Regions from separate parts of the Homo sapiens genome. Here region 2 is linked to region 1. The links are contacts of gene promoters, found by promoter capture Hi-C in human tissues and cell types (Jung and others, 2019). All regions are on one chromosome and are shown on one strand. The core of a region is centred on a gene start or on the middle of the fragment in contact, and the rest is flanking DNA. Distances in the headings are between cores, read along the strand shown. Region 1 holds the start of TPM1 (tropomyosin 1). Region 2 has its middle 18 kb from the start of DAPK2.

Evidence for each region. The method cuts DNA at HindIII sites, captures the fragments that hold promoters and counts their contacts. A contact is called where the count stands out against the background at its distance.
Region 2: a fragment that was not itself captured here is called in contact with the fragment with the promoter of TPM1 in region 1 in 1 of the 25 tissues and cell types used here (lymphoblastoid cells).

The regions. Positions count from the first base shown.
Region 1 is chr15:63,041,297-63,043,996 of GRCh38, reverse strand. It overlaps TPM1 (tropomyosin 1), which reads right to left and starts at 1,250. Exons shown (of 10, transcript NM_001018005.2): 1 at 1,054-1,250. The coding sequence starts at 1,167. RefSeq lists enhancers at 1-478, 1,392-2,306. The HindIII fragment of the contact is 3,976 bases long and covers 188-2,700 here.
Region 2 is chr15:64,062,910-64,065,609 of GRCh38, reverse strand. No RefSeq gene overlaps it. Among named protein-coding and RNA genes, the nearest start is that of DAPK2, 18 kb to the right of the region's middle. The HindIII fragment of the contact is 3,825 bases long and covers 1-2,700 here.

The sequences.
Region 1 (2,700 bases), core at 1-2,500:
AGGGGGGTGCAGCAGGCAGCGTGATCCCGAAGGGGAGGGGTGTGGGTGCACAGAACCAGAAGGACAGGGACAGCGGGAGAGACAGAGGGAAAGACAGGGAGGGAGAGAGAGAAAGAGAAAGAGTTAGCCATTCGTGCGCCACGCCGTGCCGCGCGCCCCGGGTACCTTGGCGGCGGCCTCTTCGGCGGCCAGGAGGCTGTCCTCCGCCTTGTGCAGCTCCTCCAGCACCCGGTCCCGCTCGTCCTCCGACACCCGCAGCAACTTCTCCTTGGCCGCGATGTCCTCCTCGAGCTGGGGGCAGCGGCGGGCGGGCGCGGGCGGCCGGCACGGACCGGGTGTTAGACACACACAACACACGGGCGTCGGGTTGGCTGGGGCCCCTCGGGCTCGGGGCGCCGCCGAGTTGGAGTGCAAAGGACCCGAGGTAACTTCCTCTTTACCCGAGCTGGAACCGCTCCGCGGCTCACCCCGCACACCCACCTGCCCTGGGACGAGACTCCTGCCGAGGTCTCAGCGGGCTCAAGTCCACTACTTGGGGACACAGAAGAACGCCACTGCTGGCCTGGCTTTCGGGCTGTAGCCTCCATTCCGCCCCATCTTTGTTCTTAGGTAACAACTCCAGGACTCCCTTCTCCTCCCCAAGTTTAAGGTTCCTTTCTCCCCAGTCAAAAGTCAACGAACTTCTAACACTTGAGTTACTCGACCCCCTTTCTCCATCCCTCGCCCTTCCTTCAAACGTCCCCAGGAACCGGGTGTCCTCCTCCCTCCCCCAAACTGATTCCCAGTCCTGAGAATAAAGCGCCTCTAGGACTTGATTTCGCGGGCCATGGGAACCAGAGAAGGGAAATAAGCGTCCTCAGACCAGACTAAGTTAGACTAAGCCTGGCTCTTGCGTTTCCCTTCCTTCTTTCCAGACGCGCGCCCTGGCCGCCCTGGGTGGTGGTGGGGGTAGGGTGGTGGCTCCCCGAGTCCTCGGGGTGGGGATCCAGCCGGGGGTGCCAGGCTCGAGTCCCGGCGCTCTGGGCGCGGGCGCAGGGCCGGGGAGGCGCAGACCTGCTTGCTCCTGTCTTCCGCCGCCTTCTTGTCGGCCTCCGCCTGCTCAGCTCGATCCAAGGCGTTCTCCTTGTCGAGCTTCAGCATCTGCATCTTCTTCTTGATGGCGTCCATGGTGGCGGCGGCGAGGGGCCCTGGGGCTGCAGCAGGAGCGGCGGGGCGAGCGCGCGGTCGGGCGGAGGAGCGGGAGTGCGAGCGCGGAGCCGCCTGCTTCTCCCAGATATGTACTTTCCCAAGGGGGCGACCGCATTCCTCAAGACAGCCAATACTTTTTTGGAAAAGCTTTTTTCTCCTGCCCCCCTTCCTCCTCTCCTCCCTCCGCCCCGTGCCCCCTCCCCGCTCCTCCCGCGGGGGCCGCTCGCCCATTCGCTGCCGGCCGCCGGCCTCCCAGTTGACGGTGGATATGACTATATATGGGGACCCGAGCCGCCGAGGCGGCGGCCGGAGAGGCCGCCCTGTTTCTAAACCTGCGCGCCAGGGAGAGGGCGTTGGGGCCGAGCCGGGGCCGAGGCGCAACCCTCCGCCCTCCGCGTGCCCTTCTCCCAGGGCCGGCACCCAGCCATTAGGGTCCCCAACCGAGCCCGCCCTGAGCTGCCGGAGGCCGGGAGAGCGCGGACCAGGTGGTGGATGCGCGTCGCCCCCCTGTGCCGTCCCCCGGCGCGCTTAGCCAAAGGCCCGGGGGCTTCCCAGCCGTGCTGCACCCCGCGTCAGGGTCAGTGCGCTCTCGGCACCCGCCAGCGCCTCCCCGGCAGCTCTCAGCCAGCCAGGTGTCATCCTGCGCGCTCACGCTCTGGAAACTCAACTGCAGCAGAGAAAGGGAGAACGTGGGAGAAAGCCTGGGGCGGCTCTTGAGACTTTCTCTGCGGGCGCGGGTCAGAGAGGCAGGGGGCGGCACAGCGACAGCACACGGAGTCTTGTTTTCTGCCTGCCCTTTCCCCCAGCGGAGGGACAGTCAAATACTTTAGGGACACAGGACTCAGTGGCGTACTTCTGTGCTTGCTGTGCAGTGCCTCCAAAAAGGTGTGCATGTGTGCGTGTGTGTGCGGGTGGCAGTCTAAGGGGAAAGAACATTGAGTTTAGACTCAGGCAATTTGGTCTGTGGTCTCTACTCTGCCACCAGCAACTGTGAGACCTTGTTTGCTGCCCGCGGCTTCCTCAACTTTAAATCCAGCGGGTAGATAATCCCCGAGGTCCCTCCAGATATAACTTGTTATCATTTTTCTTGCACTGATTTTAGGGAGTCGGCCTTCCATGTTAGATGCTTAGGTGCCAGGTTTCGGAAAACATGGGATCGGCGTTAACCTGGCTAAGTCATTGCATCCGCAGCCGCAACTCTGAGGAGGCTCTGCCGTGTGAGCTGTGCTTGGAAGGAGGAGGATTTCCCCCAACACTTCTTATTTTTAACTACTCCTCCCATCTCCCAAGGGGGAAAGGCTGCTTTTTTTCAGAGCTTCAGTGGGAGGGGAGGAGAGGGGGCTGCCCCCAAGCCCTGAGATCAGCTGAGGCAGGGTTGGTGAGGGTCTTGTTAATAGTCCCCACAGAATAATTCACAGTCTGTACTGCATGGTTACCAAATATTCCCCGGACGGTATCTGAGCAGATTAGGCAGGCCAAACAACTTGTAAGTCCTTCAGAGAATGATCAAAT
Region 2 (2,700 bases), core at 185-2,684, 1.0 Mb before region 1:
CATAATTAGAAAGGTCTTTCCCTCTCCTAGGGGAATATTTTTCCTATCCTTCCCTTTAATACTTTTATGATTTTATTTTTAAACATTTCAATCTTTGAGTCATTTGGAATTTACACTGGCATAAGTACTCAGTATAATTTACTAAATACTCAGTATAAATACTCAGTACAGACTACTGAGAATTTATACTGGTATAAATGCTGAACCAACTCAGTTTTGTATCCAGATGACTAGTTATTGTCTTGACATCCCTTATTGAATAGTTTATCTTATCCATGACCATTATTTTCAAACCCTACGTTATGAATCATATGATGATCACAGCATCATTTTTTATCATGAAAAATGTGCAACTTAATGACTAACAACATGTAAGGCATTAAATAATTGATACTACACTTATTTAATGGAATCTTGATGTTTTCAAAGACTCTTTAATTACATGGGAAATTCTCAAGACAAAATTAAGACAGGCAAGATACAAAATAATATATGCCAAGTGATCCCAATTAAAAACAAGAGTGTATTTATGTATAAAAATAGAAGAAATATCAACATTTTAAGAGTATTTTATTTCTGTCTTTTAAAAAGTTTATCTGCAATGAATGTTTCCTTTTGATAAGTTGATAACCCCTAATAAATATTATTTAAAACACCAAAAAAGACTCATGTACGCAGGGCACAGTGGCTCACGTCTGTAATCCCAGCACTTTGGGAGGGCAAGGTGGGAGGATCGATTAAGGCTAGGAGTTTGAGACCAGCCTGGGCAACATAGCAAGACCCTGTCTCTACAAAAATAAATTAAAATAGTTGGGCATAGTGGCATGTGCCTGCCATCCTAGGTACTAGGGAAGCTAAGGCGGAGGGTCACTTGAACTCAGGAGGTCGAGGCTGCAGTGTGCTGTGATTGCACCACTGTACTCCCACCTTGGTGACACAGCAAGACCTTGTCTTTAAAACAAAACCAAAACACCTCTTGTGGTATATGTGTCTTTTATAAAACCATTTTTAAAAATATATTTTTAAGGTGGGAAATACAATGTATTTTCTCTCTTGGGAAAGTTTCCCTTGATTTTATCCAAACTCTTGGGGGCTGGAGCTGTAGCCCACTGCTCACATTCTTAGCTATTTCTAATGTATTTTCTATTTCATGTCTCCTCAGGTGTCTCCTACAGCTACTGGTGTGTTTTTTGCATATTGGCCTTCCAACATTTCTTGTTGAATTATTTCAGGCTCACCTTGGTCATAATGAGTGGATCTGGCTTTACCCAGGGCTTCAGCCTTTAGCATTTCACATGAGGAATATCCACTGAGCTGGGGGTCAAGAGGCCTGACCTTTAATCTTGGCTCTGCCCCAGGCAAGTGTGAACTTGGGTAAGTCACTCTTGCTCTGGTGGGCCTCCTTCTGTCTTCTATAAAGTTAATGTGTTAGGTGATCTCTAAAGTTCCTTCTGGTTTTGAATGTCTAACTATAGAAGCCACAGTGAATGTTGGCTTTCTAGGGGTTCCGAGGATCCTTTAGCATCATTAACAACAAGCGAGATTAATACTGAGTTTGGTCTACAGTTGCTAATCCACTGATTCATGCAGAATTAAAAATGATCATGACCTTTTACCAAAACTTATTAGCTTAATAAATCTCTCTGTGTGTGAGTGTGTGTGTGTGTGTGTGTGTGTGTGTGTGTGTTTGCTTTTTTTTTTTCCTGCAACCTCCACCTCCTGGGTTCAAGCAATTCTCCTGCCTCAGACACCCGAGTAGCTGGGATTACAGGTGCCCGCCACCACGCCCAGCTAATTTTTTGTGTTTTTAGTAGAGATGGGGTTTCACCATGTTGGCTAGCCTGGTCTCAAATTCCTGACCTCGTGGTTCGCCTGCCTGGGCCTCCCAAAGTGCTGGAATTATAGGCATGAGCCACCGTTACCGACCTGCTTTTTGTTTTTTAAGGAGTGTTATGGTTCCTAGGCTTTTTTTGTTGTTGTTCTGATTAAGCAAATTTAGCTAAACTGGGTCCTGTCAACTGAGTTTTCTTGTAGCTGGATGCCTCAGGCTGTCACAACTGTGGGTGTTTTTTGTTTTGGTTTTTGTTTTTTTTTGGCTACATTAAGCTGAGTCTATTCAGATGAGACAGAATGTAAAGTGAGTATGTGTGCAAGATTGCCTTGCAAGGTGAAACTTACCAAGTTGCAGAGCCTTGTGAGACCTACATTTCTCCCACTGAAAAACGTGGCTACCATCAGGGACAGTGAGGGCTAATTTTGTGTTAATCTAATTCTCCAACTTCATTTTACAGGTAAGAACACTGAGGCCAGGAAATGTTGAGTGACGTGTCCATACTCACATAGCATGGAAGAATCAGAGGCCATGGGGTCAGGACCTATGGGCTTAGGATATACCGGAAGAGGCCTGATTTCCAGTCGAGCATTTGCCAAAAATCAGCAGCGTGATTTGGGCAAGTCATTTTCCCTATTGATTAAAGTGAATTAACAGAACACAGTGCAAAATTTTCTAGGTTCCTTATCTATTTTGTGGATTGAAAATAGGGTCCAGGTAGATTGACAGACATAGAACTTCCTGGTGAAATAAATGGGACGTAGCTGGACACAATAATCAAGATATGATTTTACTCATTTTGCCATTTTCATCATTTTCTGAAGGATATTTACAGTTTAATGTGTCTTCACATTAGCAATGTTTGATGC